Regions from separate parts of the Homo sapiens genome. Here region 1 is linked to region 2. Evidence: promoter capture Hi-C in 16 types of primary human blood cells and fetal thymus (Javierre and others, 2016). All regions are on one chromosome and are shown on one strand. The core of a region is centred on a gene start or on the middle of the fragment in contact, and the rest is flanking DNA. Distances in the headings are between cores, read along the strand shown. Region 1 overlaps CEP95 (centrosomal protein 95). Region 2 holds the start of PSMC5 (proteasome 26S subunit, ATPase 5).

What was found. The method cuts DNA at HindIII sites, captures the fragments that hold promoters and counts their contacts. A CHiCAGO score of 5 or more calls a contact.
Region 1: a fragment that was not itself captured here is called in contact with the fragment with the promoter of PSMC5 in region 2 in 3 of 17 cell types (monocytes, total CD8 T cells and naive CD4 T cells); the score reaches 6.7 in monocytes.

What each region holds. Positions count from the first base shown.
Region 1 is chr17:64,511,298-64,515,208 of GRCh38, reverse strand. It overlaps CEP95 (centrosomal protein 95), which reads right to left. Exons shown (of 20, transcript NM_138363.3): 4 at 851-961. Among named protein-coding and RNA genes, the nearest start is that of CEP95, 6.3 kb to the right of the region's middle. The HindIII fragment of the contact is 1,475 bases long and covers 1,198-2,672 here.
Region 2 is chr17:63,824,654-63,828,695 of GRCh38, reverse strand. It overlaps PSMC5 (proteasome 26S subunit, ATPase 5), which reads right to left and starts at 1,265. Exons shown (of 12, transcript NM_002805.6): 1 at 1,182-1,265; 2 at 487-558. The coding sequence starts at 1,205. FTSJ3 (FtsJ RNA 2'-O-methyltransferase 3) reads left to right here and starts at 1,033. Exons shown (of 21, transcript NM_017647.4): 1 at 1,033-1,644; 2 at 1,768-1,860; 3 at 2,024-2,129; 4 at 2,392-2,438; 5 at 2,561-2,640; 6 at 3,061-3,160; 7 at 3,260-3,454; 8 at 3,533-3,648; 9 at 3,767-3,871; 10 at 3,959-4,042. The coding sequence starts at 1,794. RefSeq lists enhancers at 875-924, 1,305-1,584, 721-1,920. The HindIII fragment of the contact is 8,506 bases long and covers 1-3,746 here.

The sequences.
Region 1 (3,911 bases), core at 686-3,185, 690 kb before region 2:
AGCAGCTTGGAATCCTCCCAGAGTACCCAGACGCCTATAAAACACTCAATTTTTGAAACAAAGAAATGTCCAGTGTGGCAGACTTTTCAATTTTCCCTCCCAGTTTTTAAACAGTTTAGTAACAATGATTAAAGGTAGGAAACTATCTCTAACTAAAGACTTTAAGATTAATTTCAAATGTGACTATCACAGGTCTCACTATAAACAAAGTGAGAATGGAGGATGAGCCTACCCCAATTTTTTGTCTTAATTTGTATTCGAATTTATGTAAATTGTGGTTGCTGCTGAAAGTTTATTTTTGATAACTTTTCAACATAAGAACAGGTAATATATTATTCCATTCGTGACCAACAGCATTATTTACTTAATCTCAAATTATTAAGACAGTTAAGTTCTTTCACTTTTTGCAATGACAAATATCTGAAATATTTAGGCTGTCACAAATGTAAGTGCAGGCTAAAGACACAAATGCACCAATTCTTCCTGTTGATGCCTCAGTAACATCCAAATATTTACCATAAATAGCAGTTCTGACACACGAAATTTTGGAGAAAGAAATTTTATGCAATCATAGGACAATAAATAATTTAGCCAGAAATTTATCTTTCTAGTATAAATTAGTTTTGAAGTAATTTATGAGCAACATCCAAGTTGATAAAGAACATGATGACAGTCTAAGACAGTTTCCAACCAGCTGGAACAATAAGAATTTGAAATTTACAACTACGGTTATCAGGTATACTGTATTAGTGAATCTGCTTCCTATGAAGAAAAATACACAAAAAGATAAAAGGCAAAAGGGACACATCATAAAAGGTAAACCAAACCAAATTTCCATTCTTAAACTTACTTTTCTCATGAGATGTTTCACTGATGCGTTCTGTAAGATACTCCAACAAACCATCAAATATTTCCAGGAGATTCTTAATAGATTCTTTATCTCCTTTCACTATATTTTCTCCTGGAGACAGAATATAGAGCTATTAAAAAATTTAACCATGAAATCTGAAAGCTTCATAATCTTGAAACTTGGATATAACATTGTGAAAATGCTATTTAAGAATACAGGCGATACATACCAACTTACAGCTCCTTGGAGATTAAATAAAAAAAAGAATACAGGTGAAACAATTATAAATATTAAGAACAACAATTTCCTGCTGCCTGATTATATTTGAAGAAAAAAAGGGGGAAGCTTTAAATATGGCGTCTAATAATTCACTGGCATATTCCTTCCTTTTTTGGAGAAGCAAAATAATTGGACTTAAGAAAACATGTCTAGTAAGATTTATACCAAAATATATTGCAGCTAAACAGAACTTTACCAGATTGGTGGGAAAAAGTGGCAGGAGAGAACACTTTCAGATTGTGGTATCCTATTCTAAATGGTGGTTTGTTCAGAAGATTATAGCAGCAGAGTAACATCAAAACAACAAAAAAAAACAATAAACTTGTTGGGATACTTTCATCAGAAATTCCTGAATTCTCCACCATAACCCCCCATATTTGTTAACTCCTCATTTTGTATAGATCATACCATTTTTCTGATTAAAATCCTTTCCCTGGCTCCCTTTCTGAAATATAAGCCCTGCATATAAAACCTTTTTAAATCTCACTCCATCTTCAGCGTCTCCAGCTACATCTCTTACCATATCCACTTCATATTCATAACTTACACTCATAGATCATAGCACAGTCCCTAGCACAGTACCTACTCCGTAACAGATTTTTAATATAAATGATTAGGTTGAAATGTTGAATAGAAATGGGTTGGCAAAAAGCATGGAAACTTGACATATTTAATGTCACCTGAAATGGACTCCAAATCAACCTCAGGTATAGATAGTACTTAACCCTTGTGACACTCTGATTGTCCTTTGGGAGATCATGCCTGGCATTCTCATGAGTTCACACCAATATGGGAAAAGCAGTGTAGAAATTTGACATTTGGGAGAATCTAGCCATTCGTAACCTCAGCCATGATGCAAAACAAACCTAAACCAGAAATTTGACGTTTTATACTACTACTAGTAACGACAACGTTTGAGTTTTTTCGTTTAAAACAATGAACCAGAAATCTTGGTTTTGGACGTGTTTTTCCGGCTTAAAAATACCTAAGTATATCCCAAGAGCATCCTCAAAACTTTTCAGTTTCTAGGATGGGGAGTATACTGACAACCTAGCAACTAAGACTGCCAGCCAGAATGCAGTGCTTCATGCTGCAGGAGAAACTGTTTTACAATTTTTCATAGGGTGGGTGTAATCTGTCAAAGACAGCTCTGCATTAAAGAGTTTTACAAACATGTATGTTTATAACCCTGCTATAGTATGTTTAACAAGCACAAATACCAGAACTTGTCCTACTTGGGTGATAAAGCAATTACAAATTGCAAAAAAAAGAGGGAAACTATGGGAGTAGCCCTCAAATTATCTCCGAACTGATTTACCCATTCACTCACCTAGAACTGCATTAAAAAACTTAAGACAGAAGAGTATTTTATTCTCTTCGCAAAAATTTGTTCTTGTCAGTATCAAATTAAGAGATGTAAATCAGGACTTATCCTGATTAACATTTATCTCCTTTTACAACTATCAAAGAATAAATCAACAGTATAAATCCTCTTTTTGTGATTATAGTTTCACATTGTCAATATTCCCTCTATTCATAAGCTTGAAATAACTTACTGGAATAATCATTCATTTCTAAACATAAATGAAATACACATAATACAGTGATTTATAAATATATTTGGTATGCTTAGTTTTAGAATACAGTATAGTATACTTTATTTTGGAGATTTAATTACAGAAAAAAACTTCTGAATAGATAACATGGTTCAAAATTCAGCAAGTGCAAAAAGTATACACTGAAAGTTCTTGTCCCTTTGTCCTGCAACCCTGAGGTTCCCTTTGTTGGAAGCAATCAGTATTACGAGTTTCTTGTATATGCTTCTAGAGAGTTCTTCCGATTGCAAACAACTGCAAATACTTCTGCACACCTTTGTTTTTACAAACACTAGCATACTACTCTGCACATTACCATTATAATTGTACTACATTTTTCTCGCATCACATATGCTAGAGATTGTTCCCAACACGGAACATTGTGCACAAAGAGCATATTCAGTCATCTTTTACAGCCACAGAGCAGTCCACTGTATGCAGCTATCATGATTTATCTAACCAATCCCTACTAATGGACATTTAGGTGTTTCTAATTTTTAGCTATCACAAACAAGTAGCATTAGTATGCTTTAAAATAAAACAATACGGCCAGGTGTTGCGAGAAGTCAGGGACCCCAAACAGAGGGACCGGCTGAAGCCATGGCAGAAGAACGTGGATTGTGAAGATTTCATGGACATTTATTAGTTCCCCAAATTAATACTTTTATAACTTCTTATGCCTGTCTTTACTGCAATCTCTGAACATGAATTGTAAAGATTTCATGGACACTTATCACTTCCCCAATCAATACCCTTGTGATTTCCTAGGCCTGTCTTCACTTTAATCTCTTAATCCTGTCATCTTGTAAACCGAGGAGGATGTATGTAGCCTCAGGACCACGTGATAATTGCGTTAACTGCACAAAATTGTAGAGCATGTGTGTTTGAACAATATGAAATCTGGGCACCTTGAAAAAAAGAACAGGATAACAGCAATTGTTCAGGGAATAAGACAGATAACCTTAAACTCTGTCCGTTGGTGAGCCGGGCGGAACAGAGCCATATTTCTTTTCTTTCAAAAGCAAATGGGAGAAATATCGCTGAATTCTTTTTCTCAGCAAGGAACATCCCTGGGAAAGAGAATACACGCCTGGGGGCAGGTCTACAGACGGTCCCCCGGGCGTGGCCATCTTTTATGGTCTGTAGACTGTAGGGCTGAAATAGACCTCAGTCTCCCATATCGCTCC
Region 2 (4,042 bases), core at 16-2,515:
TTTCTATGGTTTAGCGCTTTAGGCTAGGGCTCTGGGTTGCCCAATTTCTTTCATTCAGTCTCTATGGAATTAGCATTGTCCAGATCCCTCAATGATGCCCTTCCTCACATTCTCACTTCACCCTCACCCAACCTCTTGGTGATAAATTTCAACTCCTGAGCTTATGTTTCCCTTTTATAAGAATCCTTTTCATTCGGGCTTCTTCCAAAAGGGTTGACCTTTGGCTAGAGGTACCTTTACTATTAAGATTTGACTCGAAGATGTGTAACAAACTGTGAACACTAAGACCCTCAAAGAGATGGGACTGGAGGAGAACAAGAGATTGCTTACTTCTGATACATACACCCTACTAGCTAAGAAACAAACAAGAAAGGAGAAGCAGCAGCTTCTTCCACTGCACTCCCAAAGGAATTAGATGGATTTGTGGAAGTCCGTTTCCATCCCCCATCATCACCCTTCCTAGCTCCCTCTGGAGTCCGTCCTCACCTGGAGTTCTTCAATCTTGGACAGATAATATTGGCGGAGTCCGCTGCCTGCCTTCCCCTCCTCCAGCTCCATCTGAAGACACAGAGTGAGTCTTAAACGACAGGTTAAACATCCGAGGGGGTAAAGCCACTTGCAGGGCACTTTGAATAAGGCTTGACACCAGGTAGCTTTGCGTAGTAGAAAAAGTTTGGACTTCGGAGGCTCAGGATCTGGGTTCTAATCCCTCCCTCCCTTGGAACCCTCCATTTTCCCAGGACTAAAATAAAAGAATGGGAACGCCGCCTACCTCATACGACTTTTAGGAGGACCGAGAGGCGATATGATATAGACGGGGGGCGCTTTGCACTGCGTGAAGTGCTCTACAAGCCCGAGGTGTCAGTACTGACGAAGGAGCCAGCGGAACGGAGCCAAAGGACTGGCGTCCCGTCTCCTGCGACCCGTGGGCCGGCCATTCCCGCGCCCATCGCTTCCCTCACTCACTCCGCTTCTACCGCGTCTTCCTCTCCCAGCCTTGCCCTGACTCACCGAGGGCGGCGCTGACACAGCAGATCCGGTCGCAGGCAGCGTCCAGCATGGACTGGTCCAGGCACCTCCGACCCACCCGACGCTCCTGCCCCGGCCCGCTCTCCACTCAGATCACGCTCGCTCCGCACCCAGCCCCGTAACCTGCCGGGCCGCCACTGCACCCGCCATACCTGCTCTGGTCCGTCAAGCGCCATCTTCTCTCTTCAGCAGAGACCGCCGGCATCCGAGCCGTCTTGGCGCGCAAGCGCGGAAGCGGAGGATTGGGACCTGAAGACCAGGCAGAGAAGAATTCCGGGTCAATGGGCGGGGTGTGCGGCGAGACCACACTAAGGGAACCATGATGGGAGGGGCGGCTACTCGAGTTCAGGGGCTTTGGAAGGGGATGAGGAAGGAGTAGAACTCCTCCTCAGTGTTGCCTCATTGAAACTCTGTTTATAGTTCTTGTGATATGCCTTCCTAGTCTCAACTTTCAACTTACAAAACCCAAGGACAGAGTATTGAGAACAATCTAGGGCCACACTCAAAATGGCGGAAAACCTCGAGCCAGGGACGCAGGGGACGCAAGCGGAAGCGGAAGTAGTTAGCTGCATACTTGTGCGGTTCCAAGTGTGGAGAAAGCGGCTCTGGGTCTAGGTAGTGTGCGGAGAGGGGCGCGGGGTGGAATTGCTGCGGGAAGTGGGAAACTGGAAGTGGGAAACTGGAAGTGGAATCTGGTGCTCCGGAAAGAGACGTTCCCAACTTCTACTTTCTCCCCAGATTGAGGGATACTCCCCCTTTCCACCATGGGCAAGAAGGGCAAAGTTGGCAAGAGCCGACGAGACAAGTTTTATCACTTGGCGAAGGAGACGGGTGAGTCCGGATTCGCTCAGTCTGCGAGCGAGCGAGCGATCTCTGCCCGGTTCGCCTGCTCTTTGCGACCATTATGTACCTCTCCTGCAGAAGGGGTGGTCGGTTGCGAGGCCGGAGAAATCCTACTAGTGAAGCAGTTTGCGCACTTGGTTGTTTTGTCCAGGTTACCGTTCCCGATCTGCTTTCAAGCTGATCCAGCTCAATCGCCGCTTTCAGTTCCTGCAGAAAGCCCGAGCCTTGCTGGACCTGTGTGCTGCGCCAGGGGGATGGTTCGTAACACTCGCCACAGGTTGCTCCTGGTGGCCGCTTTCTGGGTTCTGAGCTGGGATGGCTTCCAGTTTCACTGCGGGAGGGGAACCCGAATCCCGGTCCTCTTGGGGGCCGTTTCCTTTCTTGATTGCAGAGAAAGGGCTTGGAATACGTGCCTATGATATGCTTTGGCCAGTACACGTAACACCAGGGATGAGAGATCAGTTGCCAAGAGGGGGAAAAGGATGGCTCTAGGTTTTTAAATTTCTGTTCCTTTTATAGGCTGCAGGTAGCTGCCAAGTTTATGCCTGTATCCAGCCTTATTGTGGGTGAGTAACGGACAGCTCTCCTTGGTGTTTTAAGGGGTGGGTGTATAAGGTATTTTGTCCTGTATTTCTCTCCTCCCTGCTTGAAGCAACCTTTTAGAATACTCTGACCTGATTTCTTCCAGGAGTGGACCTGGTTCCAATCAAGCCTCTCCCCAATGTGGTGACTCTCCAGCAGGACATCACAACAGAACGTTGTAGGCAGGTAATAGGAGTCTCTCTCTTCCTTCCCCCTTTATACGGAAACATCTACATCCCTGAAATCCTCTAAAGGCAAGTTTTTCCTTTTTACCGTGCTTTGAGCACGTTCTTGCCTGACATCTGTACGACAAGACCTATGGCATTCGTAGTGTCCACTCCAGGCTTTATTTAGAGTCAGGGATAAAGGTGTTTGGAATTGGGAGAAGGGCAGAGATCTTTAGTGAAGTCTTCTCCTGTGAATTCAGTGTCAGACTGTAATCTCCATGAAGGTAGAGACATACTGTTTTTGTTTACTATTGTATCTCCTGTGCCTGGTACTGCATTTGGCCCATGATGGGCACTCAGCAAATGACTAGATGGACAAATGGCTGAACCAGGGCCATTCCAGTGTTTCTGTTTCCATAGTTCCTTTTCTTCTCTTTAGGCCCTGAGGAAGGAGCTGAAGACCTGGAAGGTTGATGTTGTGCTCAATGATGGGGCCCCCAACGTTGGGGCTAGCTGGGTCCATGATGCTTACTCACAAGGTACAGGGAGTGTGGTGCTTGGAGATCAGGTGATGGTGGAGGTGGGCGCATGCCCTCCTGGGCTGCAGAGTGCGTCAACTAATTGTCTCTATCCTACAGCCCATTTGACACTGATGGCTCTACGTTTGGCTTGTGACTTTTTGGCCCGTGGTGGCAGCTTCATCACAAAGGTTTTCCGTTCTCGTGACTATCAGCCTCTGCTATGGATCTTTCAGCAGCTGTTCCGCCGTGTCCAGGCCACCAAGCCCCAAGCCTCTCGCCATGAATCTGCAGAGATCTTTGTAGTCTGCCAAGGTGGGCATCATTTCCTTTCTCTTGATCCAGGCTCCCAACTCCCAAAGCACACTTTTTAATATATCCTGTCATTTTTAGGATTCCTGGCCCCTGACAAGGTTGACAGTAAATTCTTTGACCCCAAATTTGCCTTTAAGGAGGTTGAAGTTCAGGCTAAGACCGTTACTGAATTGGTTACTAAGAAGAAGCCAAAGGTGTGTTTTGGGGAATGGGGTCACTCTTGGGTCCTGGAACTCTAGGGAGGTTGGGCCTGGTGGGTCCTACAGGTACCTTAGAAGGGCCTGACCAAGCTTCTCTCTTTTCCTTCCTAAGGCTGAAGGCTATGCTGAGGGTGACCTCACTCTCTATCACCGTACCTCAGTCACTGACTTCCTCCGAGCTGCCAACCCTGTTGACTTCCTCTCCAAGGCCAGCGAAGTGAGTCTCCAGCCTTGAGGGACATGAGGTAGCCCCAGAAACATGGCCTGAGGATCTCCCCTGACACCTTTCCATCCTCCCAAACAGATCATGGTAGATGATGAAGAGTTGGCACAGCATCCAGCTACCACTGAGGACATACGGGTGTGCTGTCAGGACATCAGAGTGTTG